Regions from separate parts of the Homo sapiens genome. Here region 1 is linked to region 2. The links are contacts of gene promoters, found by promoter capture Hi-C in blood cells and fetal thymus (Javierre and others, 2016). All regions are on one chromosome and are shown on one strand. Each heading gives the region's core, a stretch centred on a gene start or on the middle of the fragment in contact. The rest is flanking DNA. Distances are from core to core; before and after follow the strand shown. Region 1 holds the start of MACIR (macrophage immunometabolism regulator). Region 2 holds the start of ST8SIA4 (ST8 alpha-N-acetyl-neuraminide alpha-2,8-sialyltransferase 4).

The links. The method cuts DNA at HindIII sites, captures the fragments that hold promoters and counts their contacts. A CHiCAGO score of 5 or more calls a contact.
Region 1: a fragment that was not itself captured here is called in contact with the fragment with the promoter of ST8SIA4 in region 2 in 1 of 17 cell types (non-activated CD4 T cells); the score reaches 5.0 in non-activated CD4 T cells.

Annotation. Positions count from the first base shown.
Region 1 is chr5:103,258,382-103,264,174 of GRCh38, reverse strand. MACIR (macrophage immunometabolism regulator) reads right to left here and starts at 5,412. Exons shown (of 3, transcript NM_033211.4): 1 at 5,279-5,412. RefSeq lists silencers at 4,652-5,031, 5,242-5,751. The HindIII fragment of the contact is 662 bases long and covers 3,789-4,450 here.
Region 2 is chr5:100,901,052-100,906,462 of GRCh38, reverse strand. ST8SIA4 (ST8 alpha-N-acetyl-neuraminide alpha-2,8-sialyltransferase 4) reads left to right here and starts at 3,181. Exons shown (of 5, transcript NM_005668.6): 1 at 3,181-3,620. The coding sequence starts at 3,508. LOC107986437 (a long non-coding RNA gene) reads right to left here and starts at 3,055. Exons shown (of 2, transcript XR_001742825.3): 1 at 794-3,055. RefSeq lists enhancers at 1,779-2,018, 2,799-3,038, 3,524-4,093, 5,231-5,411. The HindIII fragment of the contact is 2,860 bases long and covers 775-3,634 here.

The sequences.
Region 1 (5,793 bases), core at 2,870-5,369, 2.4 Mb before region 2:
GTTCAATGATAAGACAACATGTATAGCCTTTTACACAATAATCATGATCCCGCAAAATGTATATCAAGTAATTTCTATAAGTGAAAATCTATTTTAAGTGTATGGGTAGGCACTTTATCTAAAAGCTTTATTGCCTCATTTGTGAAATGGTTGGGGGAACTACTTAGCTGCATGGTTATTTCCAACTTGAAAAATATTAAGATTTGGTGGCACATCGTGGAAAGTCTTATACAAAATCCTTCTGAATCATGGACTCTTTCTCCTATGAGCTTCTATTTTCTAAAATCATAAATTATGCGACAGAAAAAAAGGTATCAACCAATACCGTCTGGTTATATGGTTGGATATCAAATACAGTTATATATTTCCGCTTTATTTCTCAAGACTACATCTATCACAAAGTGGGATAGATTTCATTTATACTTTTATAAATGTCAATTTAAAACAAGCAGGAGGAACATTAGAAATATCTGAATGTCTTAATCCTAAAGAATAGTTTTGACAGTCTTAAATCTCATTCAAACTTTCATATAATTTGCCTCATGTATTTGGTGACATATTCTTCTTTTTAAGCTTTTAAATGCATTAGAAAAATATTTACACTTTCAAAGAGTTTCTTTTTCAACATCAAAAGAAAGAAATCAACTAAAACTTTAGTCTGGATTTGAAAGCAGAGGAGCCTTGAAGACATTACCCAACTCTTGCACTGGAGCTGATGTGTAAATCTAGGAAATGATCGGTAATTTCATAGTAAACAAAGAGTAGTAACTGATTATTCCTATTATGCCAGTGCCAAGCCAAAAATAGAATATAAACACAATGTCCAAGGGAGCAACACAAGAAAACCAAGGTGCAGAAGCTCCATTACATTCTCACTTTTTCTAATTTTGACTCTGCTTCCTGCTTTGTGGGAGGAGGAGGAAGAGCAGGAGGAGGAGGAGGAAGAGCAGGAGGAGGAGGAGGAGGAGGAGGAGGTATATGGTGAAAAAGAGGGAAAAATAAATAAAAAGAACAAGACCAGAAACTAACTAGTATAAGATTATACGTTTTCTTTAAGACATAACCCATAAAGAAATCTACTACAAAATTACAGTAAGGGTTCTACCCCCATCTCCCACTTATAACAATTAAAAGATTGTAATATAAAAATTCCCAAAACATGTACCTTTCAAATAACACACATTTTTAGAATACTTTAAAAATCTATAATTCTCTAACGCTTGCAACTGATTTTGGCCAATGTTCTAAACACTGAAGGCTTGGAAAGATATCAACAGATTTCCTCTCCAAAACAGTCAGCAAGAGGAAAAGGAATCCATGTGAAATTCTTAGAAGATAGACTAAATGCTGCATAAAAACAAAGACTGAAGTAAATAGAGCAAAGGCTACAAGATATAATAAATGCTTCCAGTTATAAGAAGCTGAAACAGAATGCAGTGGGACATTATCCCATAAGCAATAAAAATAGGAAAAAACCAAGCAGTGGCCAAGAGCTGCCCACAGACTTCTGGATAAGAAAGTCATGGGTGACTAAGCAAAAGACACCCAACATTTCACTGCAAGTGGAGCTTCTACAAATAGAAAAGTTTGCAAACATTAACTACCAAATGTATCGAATTTCTCAGGTGATAGTTATTATCACAGGTAAATAAGAATGCCTTTCAAAAGAAGAGTGACTATATATCTCAATTCATAGTCAATACCCTGGCATAATTATTGAAAGCAACCCCCTTTAACTCTCAAAAGTGTCTCAGTTTGGCTGTTTCATTTGTTATCCTACTCAAAAGCAACATGGAAAGGCAATGACTTTTTTAAAAAGGGAAACACCCTTCTGCTTGAACGGTGAATTCCCATACAGGTCTGAGTTCTTTCTTCGGGTGTACCCACTTAGATATTCACTTATTCAGTCATTCAACAATGTTTCTTAAGTCTTATTATATATCCCCACACTATGCAGGCACTGGTGCACATATAAAGAGATGGCCTGAGACTGGGTCAGAGGGGAGGGCAGACATGGAAATAAATCCTTCTAATAACAGTAAACCTGAATGGCACTAGGAACCCAAAAAAGGGAGTGCCTTTCCCAAAAATATACAAAGCTCCATTTGGAAATGTTTATGTCCATACAAAATTCGTAAACACACAAAAAAGTCGTGAATCTCAAGCTTCAGCACAGATCACTAACAAAACAGCAGTAAGAAAAAATTTAACAACATTGATCACAAATCATAAGACTATAAATATGAGGACCAGCACATAGCCCTTTCAAATATTGGTAAATAAAAATCACATTCATCATTAAAGTTTATATTATGAAAGGACAAATTTTAGGCAGAGAAATTGGTACAGTAGAAGCTGTGAGTTCTAATTCTAGCTATCAAAACATTTATTTTCATTTTTTTCATGGCCCTAACCTGAAGCCCACCAAAACATTTTCAAGAAAGAAAAGAAAGAAAGAAAGAAAGAAAGGAAGAAAGAAAGAAAGAAAGAAAGAAAGAAAGAAAGAAAGAAAGAAAGAAAGAAAGAAAGAAAGAAAAAGAAAAACAGGTAGTATTTTCAGAGTGGCTATTTAAGAAGAGACCACTAATGGAAAAGCACTTGGAAAAAAAACATCAATTTTTAAAAATTCTTTCAAAATAGTGAAAATATTTTGTAACCACTAATCTCAAAGACCACTAAAAACAAGTAAAAGATGAACCAAAACATCTCTGGAGGAATACTAACTGAACACTAAGCAGAAATAAAATGGCTTAACTGTCAAAGTACAACACAACAATGAAAACAAAATGTTTAGCTGCACCTAGATGCTCATCTTAGAGGCTTCTTTCAAATATTCTTACTTTACCATTTGCAACTTGCAAAAAGTAAGTCATCAATACTCTTTAAGAAGAGTTAACTAGGGTGTGACTTTTCTGAAACCATCCTTGACCTTACAAACAAACCATTAACCTTGCCAACTTTGTAAGATAACCCATAATTCGTTCAGTAAGACAAAAATGTGTTTCTCTTTCTAGTATCAGTTCTTTTAATAGCAATCCACCCCCTTAAAGTGCAGCACTCATTATCTTTCCATTTCTGCTAGTAAAAATTAAACCTAGGTTACTAATATCTTCTTATCACGTGGTGTCATCCTTCTACTTTTAGAAAAATACTCAGTTTCACTGCAAATATGACCGACAGTAAGTGGAACTAAAGGTCAACATGCAGCCTTTACAAGAAATTTGTCTCTTAGGAAGTATCATCAAAATGGAACAGGTGTACACTGTGGAATTGGCTAATCTTTGGGAAGGCTTAAAACCAGGTACTCATTTTGATAGGCTGGTGACAAAATCAAAGTTCTCTCTGGAGGAAAGGAGCTGATCCCCCACCTCACCCCCAGCTACAAATCAGCAAAGAAATTTTAAACCCTGTACATAAAGCTTTATTACTCTAACCATATTAAGTACTTTTGAGTTAATTTTATAATAGCTCTCTAAAATACACAGAAATATACAAAGAAAATAAGCAAATTCATTGACTGTTATATAATATCAATAAATATATCTTATACACTGAAATAATTACTAACACTTTCATTTGCAATTAAATAAACTGTTAGCAAAAGCATATTCTATACATCAATTATTATCAAATTAACAGGTCTCTGTATTCATTAACTCTTATATTCCATCCTGTTCATTTTACTTTTCAGTTTATAATGCATTCACAGTTACATAATTAAAACACTGAGGATTCTGTGACACATTCATTAAACTTAATAGTGTAATCATAAATCGCGGCCAAAAGCTTCTGCCGTAATAACCAATACTATATTTTGAAATGACTGGGAAAATAAACTTTGCAAAAGGGTCATTTCTACCTCTATAGTGTCAATCCAGCATTACAGGATTTGAGAAAATAAAACAACTAACAACCCTAAATTGTAGGTTGGCTCTTCGGAAAAAAAAAAAAAAGGAAAATGAGTCTAGTAACATCAGAAATATGCAAGAATTGTTCTTTCAGCTAGGAGCGGCAAGCACACTGTAAAATGCCTCCATTCTTCCTGCTCAAATAAAAAGTTCCCAGCTCCAGCTTTACCTGTGCACCACACACACACAAACACACACACACACACACACACACACGGAAATCTTGGTTCCACCCAAATCAGTAACCCACTGGGTTGAAAACTGAGGTGGAAGGAGAGGCAGGGAGTCCCTAAGCGTGTGGAACACTAGCAAGGGGAAAAGGACGGGGCCATCATTCCCTTCGCGTTCCCATCTCCTTTCTGGCGGAGACCTGCAGATTCCACCACTAGAGAGAGTTTGGCAGCTTCACAATGGGGCCGCGTTGCTGGAGGTCTGACTGCCACCCGCCTCGAAACCCCTCTCCTCCGCTTCCCACCTGCCCCAAAGTCCACCCGCGACAGGTGGGGCGAGGGTGGCAATGCCCGACATCTGCCGCTTAAGCTTCTGGCTCGGACCGGGCCCCAATCCACACGCGCACACACGGCCACAGCCGGCCAGTCCACCCCCACTGCACCGGCAGACACTCGGAGGGCGCGGGCGGCCTCGCACGCGGGTTGCAACCAGGACGAGGAGGGTCGGCGAGATCAGACCGCCGGGGCTCGCCCTGAGGTGCTATCTGACCCGGGCAGTCGCACCCTGAGCGCGGCCGGGCACGCAGCCAAAGGTGCCGCCGGCCGGGGAAAGCTACTTCTCAAAGGGGCCTCCAGGCCCGCTGCCCCGCGGTGCGGGAACAGCGGCCAAGGGAGGGAGCGAGCGAGCGTGCGCGCCAACGCGCCCCGACTTCCGCACCGCGGCACCGCGGGAGAGGCGCTCCGGGTCGCCGAGTCCCCGCACCTCCCCAGCGAGCGCACGACGCGCGCACACGGGGGCGCACGCCCCCGCACACTCACACGCGCTGCACACTCACGGCGTCTGCGGCCCCACCCCTGTGCCAGGGAACCGCAAGCTCCCCGCACCCCGCGCGGGCCCCACCCAGTTTACCAGACCCCAGTCCCCTTCGGGTGCCTGGGAACCGGTCCACCAAGGCCAAGGGACGCTGGGGCCGCCCCGCCGCCCATCGCAGAAGCTGGTCCGGCCGGGTTTCCCCAGCACCGCGGGCATCGTGCGCCCGGCCCAGACACGAGGCGGAGAGGAAGGGGCGGCGCCGCGATTAGGGCTGGCACTGGGGATCGGAGCCTGGGGCAAACCCACTCCCCCAAGCCCCCCATAACCACCACCTTTTCTGCAGCACAAAAGGTTACAGACGGAGCCGTCGTCCCCGTGCAACCTACCGATGGCCCAGGGCTCCGCTGCCTCCGCCGTGCCCGGGGCTGCGGAGCGGGAGACAGGGGCGGGAGAGGCGCAGGACTGCGGCGCCGAGATCCAGGCAGAGGCCGCCAGCCGAGCCAGCCGGGTACCCTCTCCTCTCCCACCGCGCTCGGCGCCAGCTACCGCCCTGCTTAGTCCCCGCCCCCTCCTCCGCCTCCTCCTCCGCCTCCTCCTCCGCCCGCCTTCCCGCCTCCTCCCTCTGGCTGCAGAGGCGCAGCCCGTCAGCGCTGAGCCCGCCTCCTGCGCCCAGCTCTCAGACACCCGGAGGAAGGGCGGGCCGGCTGGCTGCAGAAAGGCGCTAAGAGGCCAGAAGAAGTTGGCGGGGGTGGGCGGGGTTGTTGACTGGTGGTGGGGAGGAGGAGTCGCAACACCCGCTCTCTAGTCTAAACCCAGCACTCCAACTAAAGAGCTCCAACTTGCGGACCTGGGAACACTCCGGCTTCCTCAGTTAAGTGGTGTGCTGATATTTGTCACTTGT
Region 2 (5,411 bases), core at 1,932-4,431:
AAGGATAAAGTATCATTTTAAAACCAGCTGCCATTACTCACATTATTTATTTATAGGCTATTGTATAATTGTAGAATTGTGCTGAATAAAGACAAATATATTCTCTTTATTGAAGAACTTACAATCCAAAGATCAAATGAAAATTTAGAAACAATCTTATTTGCTCAGGAGCATCAAACTAAGCATTCTAATAGAAGAAGTTAATTCCAAAAGACTTCTTTATAGTCTTTTGGTGCTCAGGAACATCAAACTAAGCATTCTAATAGAAGTTAATTCCAAAAGACTTTTTATCCAATATTTATAGTTCTTGCACCTATTTACATATTGAGAAAAAACCATGCTGTCCTCACTTTTGTCTAAGTATTGGCCTGTATGGCTTCTTTTTAATTGGCAAATTATAATGGCTATATATTTAACGAATCTAACAATATTAAACAAATGGCATTCAATTACACTCCAAACACTAAATTGCTTTAATTTGGGAAGAAGAATTCCTGGAGTCTCGCTGAACAGTTATCAGTCATTCAGAATTGCTCGCCTTAATATAAAAAGTTCTGTACTTAAAAAATTCAGAAACAGCAGCATTATACAATTGGAGAGTTCACTTATTTTTCTTCTGGACATTTAAATTTGTCTTATGTGTTCCTATAACTAGTTCTTGATTGCTTTCGTTTCGCTCTTTTTTTTTTTTTTTTTCTTTTCTTTTTTTGTTTGTTTGTTTGTTTTTTCCTGTTTGGGCTAGGTAAGTAGTTTCCCCTAATGTAATTTAAAGCTTAATATAGATTATACTCACTTTCCTCTTGAAGATTTTCTTGTGGCTTTCTCATTACAGAAGACTGTTCCACACTCTGGAGCCATAGAATATTATGAGTACACCGAAACTTTTGGACCAGCACTCTCCCTTACCACTTTCCCTTCTAACAGTACTGAGCCACTTCAAAGTTGCCCCAAAGCACCAGAGTTTTATTACTCTCTGGAGTTGCGCATACTCCTTTTTCCACCTGCAATGTTCTATCCTCCCTCTGCTTGGCTTACTTCCTTGTCAGCTTTGAAAACAGGAGTCTGTGTGTCCCCTTCACCCGGAAACTCATCTTCCGGGCTTCAAAAGGCTTAAACACCCCATCTGCTTCAACCCAGGAGCTTACTCAGATACCATATATATTTTAAATGATGTTTCTGATTCATGTTGCCATACTGTAAATTATTATTTTTAAAAGATGCCCCCTTTGAGTGAGTAGGATTTGTGTCTGACTAGATGCTAAGTTTTATTCATCTTTGTGTTCCCATCTCCGCACACATTGCCTGCCCCATAACCATTGCTTAAGAAATAATGAGTTTAATGAAACGATGCATATTACTCTATCCCTGACAGAGAGTGATGTTTTACCTATAATCTAAAATATAGTTGTCTACTGTTTAAAAATCAAAGTTTATCCTTGAGAATTTAGCATCCTAACCATGCATCCCTCTCCCACCCGACCCCTGCCCTCAGCCCCGGATCCCTTTTAACTTAAATAAGAAGCTGTTTTATTCTGGCAGTTTTTGCCAGAAGAAAAGTGAGTCTAACAGAAGTCAATCTAACAGAAATGCATTAATGCAGGCTGGATTTGCCTAGACATCAATAAACTCGAAAGGCTCCCTGTGGGCCACTTGTAGTGTCAATAAACGTTCGTAATTACTTGCTCCTTGGAGCATTTTTATACCCGACCCCGTTCGCTGTGCTGCAAAGAGGAAATTCAAGATCTCGGAAGTTCTTAACTTCTTAAACTCTAGAGGAAGTATGGTAAACACTGGCGGGAACCTTGGGTTTTTAAGCAAAGATGCTGGCTGTTTTCGTTGCTATTTTAAGCTGTCAGGCGACAAGCAACTCAGAATTCCCCTTCTTACTTCCGGCGGGAGGGAAGATTGGAATTGGGCCTCATCATTTCTGAGCGTGAAAAACCGCTGAAGCTACTGTTCAACCTGAAGGAACACGGAATTCAACTGGAGAGAAACCCTGGCGACCAGGGAGCTGGGGACCGGCGCATATAGATGAGGGAAATCCTGGCTTCCAGACACTGTCTCATGCTAGAGGTGCCTCCCGACCTACCAGCCAACAGTAAAGACCGGAACCAAGGCGTGGTACTAGCAGAGTAGCAAGCATCTCTCCCAATGAGGGCAACGACTGGAGGATGGTGGAGAGGTACTCAGAGTGAACAATCGAACACAGAACTCTTGAAAAGTGTCCCTGCCACCCAATACAAGTACGAAAAATGGTGGGACGGAGGAGAGGTGACAATCAGAGGCTATATATATAATTGAGACTTTTAGAGAGGACTTTGCTCTTCCTTCCTCCCCTCCCTTTTCTTTCCTTTCTTTCTTTCCTTCCTTCCTTGGTATCCGAATGTGTGTGGGTGTACTTGCGTTTAAAAGAGAGGTCCATGGTAGCTGCTTTTTTTTCAGAACTCTGTTTCTCCGCAATGAAGTTTAAGTGGGATTGGAGTTTCCTTGACTTCTGCGTGAGGAGTTTCCAAATGGCAATGAAAGGGAGGCGCATAAATATCCATAAAGTTCCTAATGACACCTCTATCATCACTTGTTTCCTGCAGAATCCTGAGCCAGGGTCGTCGTCCACCACCCATGCAGAGTGGGCCCATCGGCTAACAGGTTCATGTGTGTATTTGCACTTTCCAGATTGAGTAATAAAAGTCTTCTTCCTTCCACCGCCGTCCCCACCCCCGCACCCCGTTTCACTCCACCTTGGAGGGCGTGTTTTTGCGTGTGAGGGTGTGTGTTTAGCAAAAGCGATTGAAAGAAGGTACTCTTCTTGCAATCCACCCCTAGCTCTACCTGAAGCATTCCTCTGGCGGGACGCTTTTGTAATCTGTCCCCAGGCGAGGTGCCCTCTCACCTAGATGCGGATAGACTATCTTGGAGCTCCCAGGTCCAGAGAGCTGATGCTTTGATGTCCCAGGAGAGTGTGTGTGATTCTGCGTGTACGTGTGTGTGCATATGTATGTATGTGTGTATGTATGTATATGTGTATGTGCGCGAGCTCGCAGGCGCGTAGCACTGTGAGCTTCCTCTCCCGGCACAGAGCAGGCAGAGCCGGGGACGTTACTCTCCAAGCAGCCTCCGCCCCCTCAGCCTGGTGATTGGCTTTGCGCAGCGTTTATCTCCTAGCAAGAGGGAAGGGCCAGTGACGCCCCCGAACCCAGCTGCAGAAGCTGCCGCCACCTCCAATGCACAAGGTGTCTCATCTGAAAAGAAACCTGAGCCCCAGGGAGGCGGCGCGGAGCGACCCTGGCAGAGCTGGCGCAAACAGGGCGAGAGGTCGCTGGGCAGCGTTCGAGGACCAGAGGGAGCTCGGCCACAGAAGACCCCAGTGATCTGATCCCGGGATCCCGGCTCCAAGCTCTCCTCGCATTTTACAGATTTCACCCCCGCGACTATCTCCCCAAAACGGAGCCTTTATATCAAGAGAAGGTGCGGGAGCTGGGGCAACCAGGACTTTCTCGGGCACCCAAGATGCGCTCCATTAGGAAGAGGTGGACGATCTGCACAATAAGTCTGCTCCTGATCTTTTATAAGACAAAAGAAATAGCAAGAACTGAGGAGCACCAGGAGACGCAACTCATCGGGTAAATGCAAAGCTTCATTTCAGGATATGACAAAAAGTCAAGCCATAAATGAAATGTGAATATAGAGGGTAGAGTGATGGTTAGGATAGCATGTGTGTTTGTTTGAGCTTGCGCGTGGTTAGTGTCATGAATTAAATAACAAAGGCTGTTGTTGAGATGTGCGTGCTTCTCTAAGCTGTTCCCAGTATGAGTTCAACTTGCTCTGTGTGGTTGTGGTGACAGTTGTGTTGGCCCTGGGTGCTCTCTCGCCAAAGGAGAAGTCACTGCAGAAGTGTCAACAAAGAACGTGTGTCCTTGTCCTTTTAATCTGTGGGCAGAACTCAAGAGAAATGTCTTTATTCACCAAACGGTTGCCTGTTTTCAATGTCCTATCACCTAAGGAGATACTGGAGATAGATGGTTTCTCGAAGGGCTGAAGTTAAAGCTTAGAAAGCAGGAAATAGGTATACTCTGTTTCTCTACTTTTTTTTTTTCTATTTGACGTTGGATAGATTAATGTGTTATAATTTGAATTAGAAACTCCAGTACCACTAAGGATACTTCCTTATTTGTTCTTCTACGGCTAAAACGCATGGGCGTCATGGTTACAGTTTTAGAAAGAAACTGGGTACTGTAGCTTCACACAGACTATATTTCTGCTATTTTTTTTAGTTTGTCTAGATGAGTTCAGACTCTCCCCCGCCCCACTAAGTTCTCTAAATATCACACTTCCTTCCACCCGCTGGCCTCTGTGTCTTTGAAGTTTACCCAGGAGGTGGTGCAACTTTGTGTTGCTGACATAGCTTGGAAGGCTTTTTCTGAGGATGTGAACCTGATTGTCAACTCTATTCAAAGTCCTGTTTCGGAAATCCTCCCTGTTCCGGTTTGGAGGCGTCCTCTATCAGAAACTACACACCAGCAGAGATGCCTGCCCAGTTTATATTTTTCTCTGACATTGATTAAAACAAAGAAAACAGCCCTTGCGTGTGTGTGTATGTGTGTGTGAGAGAGAGAGAGATGGGACTGCTAACACACACACATGCTCTTAAACTTCCTGCACTCCATTTCTTAATATTCCTGCTCCCTAGGTAATAAGCATTTATTTAAGCGAGCAAGATGCAGGTTGATCCTTACAGAAGGACTTGCTATTCTGTAGAAAACCAGGAAAACAGTAGCACAGTCAAAGCGGACTGGAAGAGAATGAAAAAGCTAGCAAGGAATGGGCTGGAATGGTCGTCATGCATCAACGAATCTATACATGGTCTATTCTGAGGGGGTAAAAAAGACCGGTATGAGGTCGTTTACACAAGACTGGGTGGCTTGAAAATCCAATCTAGCTCAGTTGTTAGAAAAGCAGGACTTTGGGCAGGGGCGTGGGCATCCCTTGCAGACCTGTGCTTGCCAGGCAGACAAAGGGGTCTTTAGAAAGGTGATGAATGGGCGCATGGGGCTCCGATGAGAGGCAGAGGCTAGAGCTTGAGGGTCGAGGCTCTTTGTTCCCTCCCGGGCCGTGGGCTAGGAGGATAAGCCTGATCCCAGACAAAGCGGCCAAGGCTCACTAGGACTCCGAGGGTTCGGGCCCTTGGCTGGGACCCTGGAGAGCAGGAGTGGGCGGAGCGAGTGAGAAGAGGGTCGCCAGATACTGCCGAGGTGTCCATCTCCGAGCCTCCCTAAACCGTGGCCAGGAAAAGGAGCGCACCTCGAGTCCCTGCGGGGAAGCGGAGCCGGGACACTCCGCATTGCACGGGTGTCATTTCTCCTGTGGCCCTTTCCTGGACGTTGCCGGCTGGTGGGCGCAGCCCTAGGCGTTAA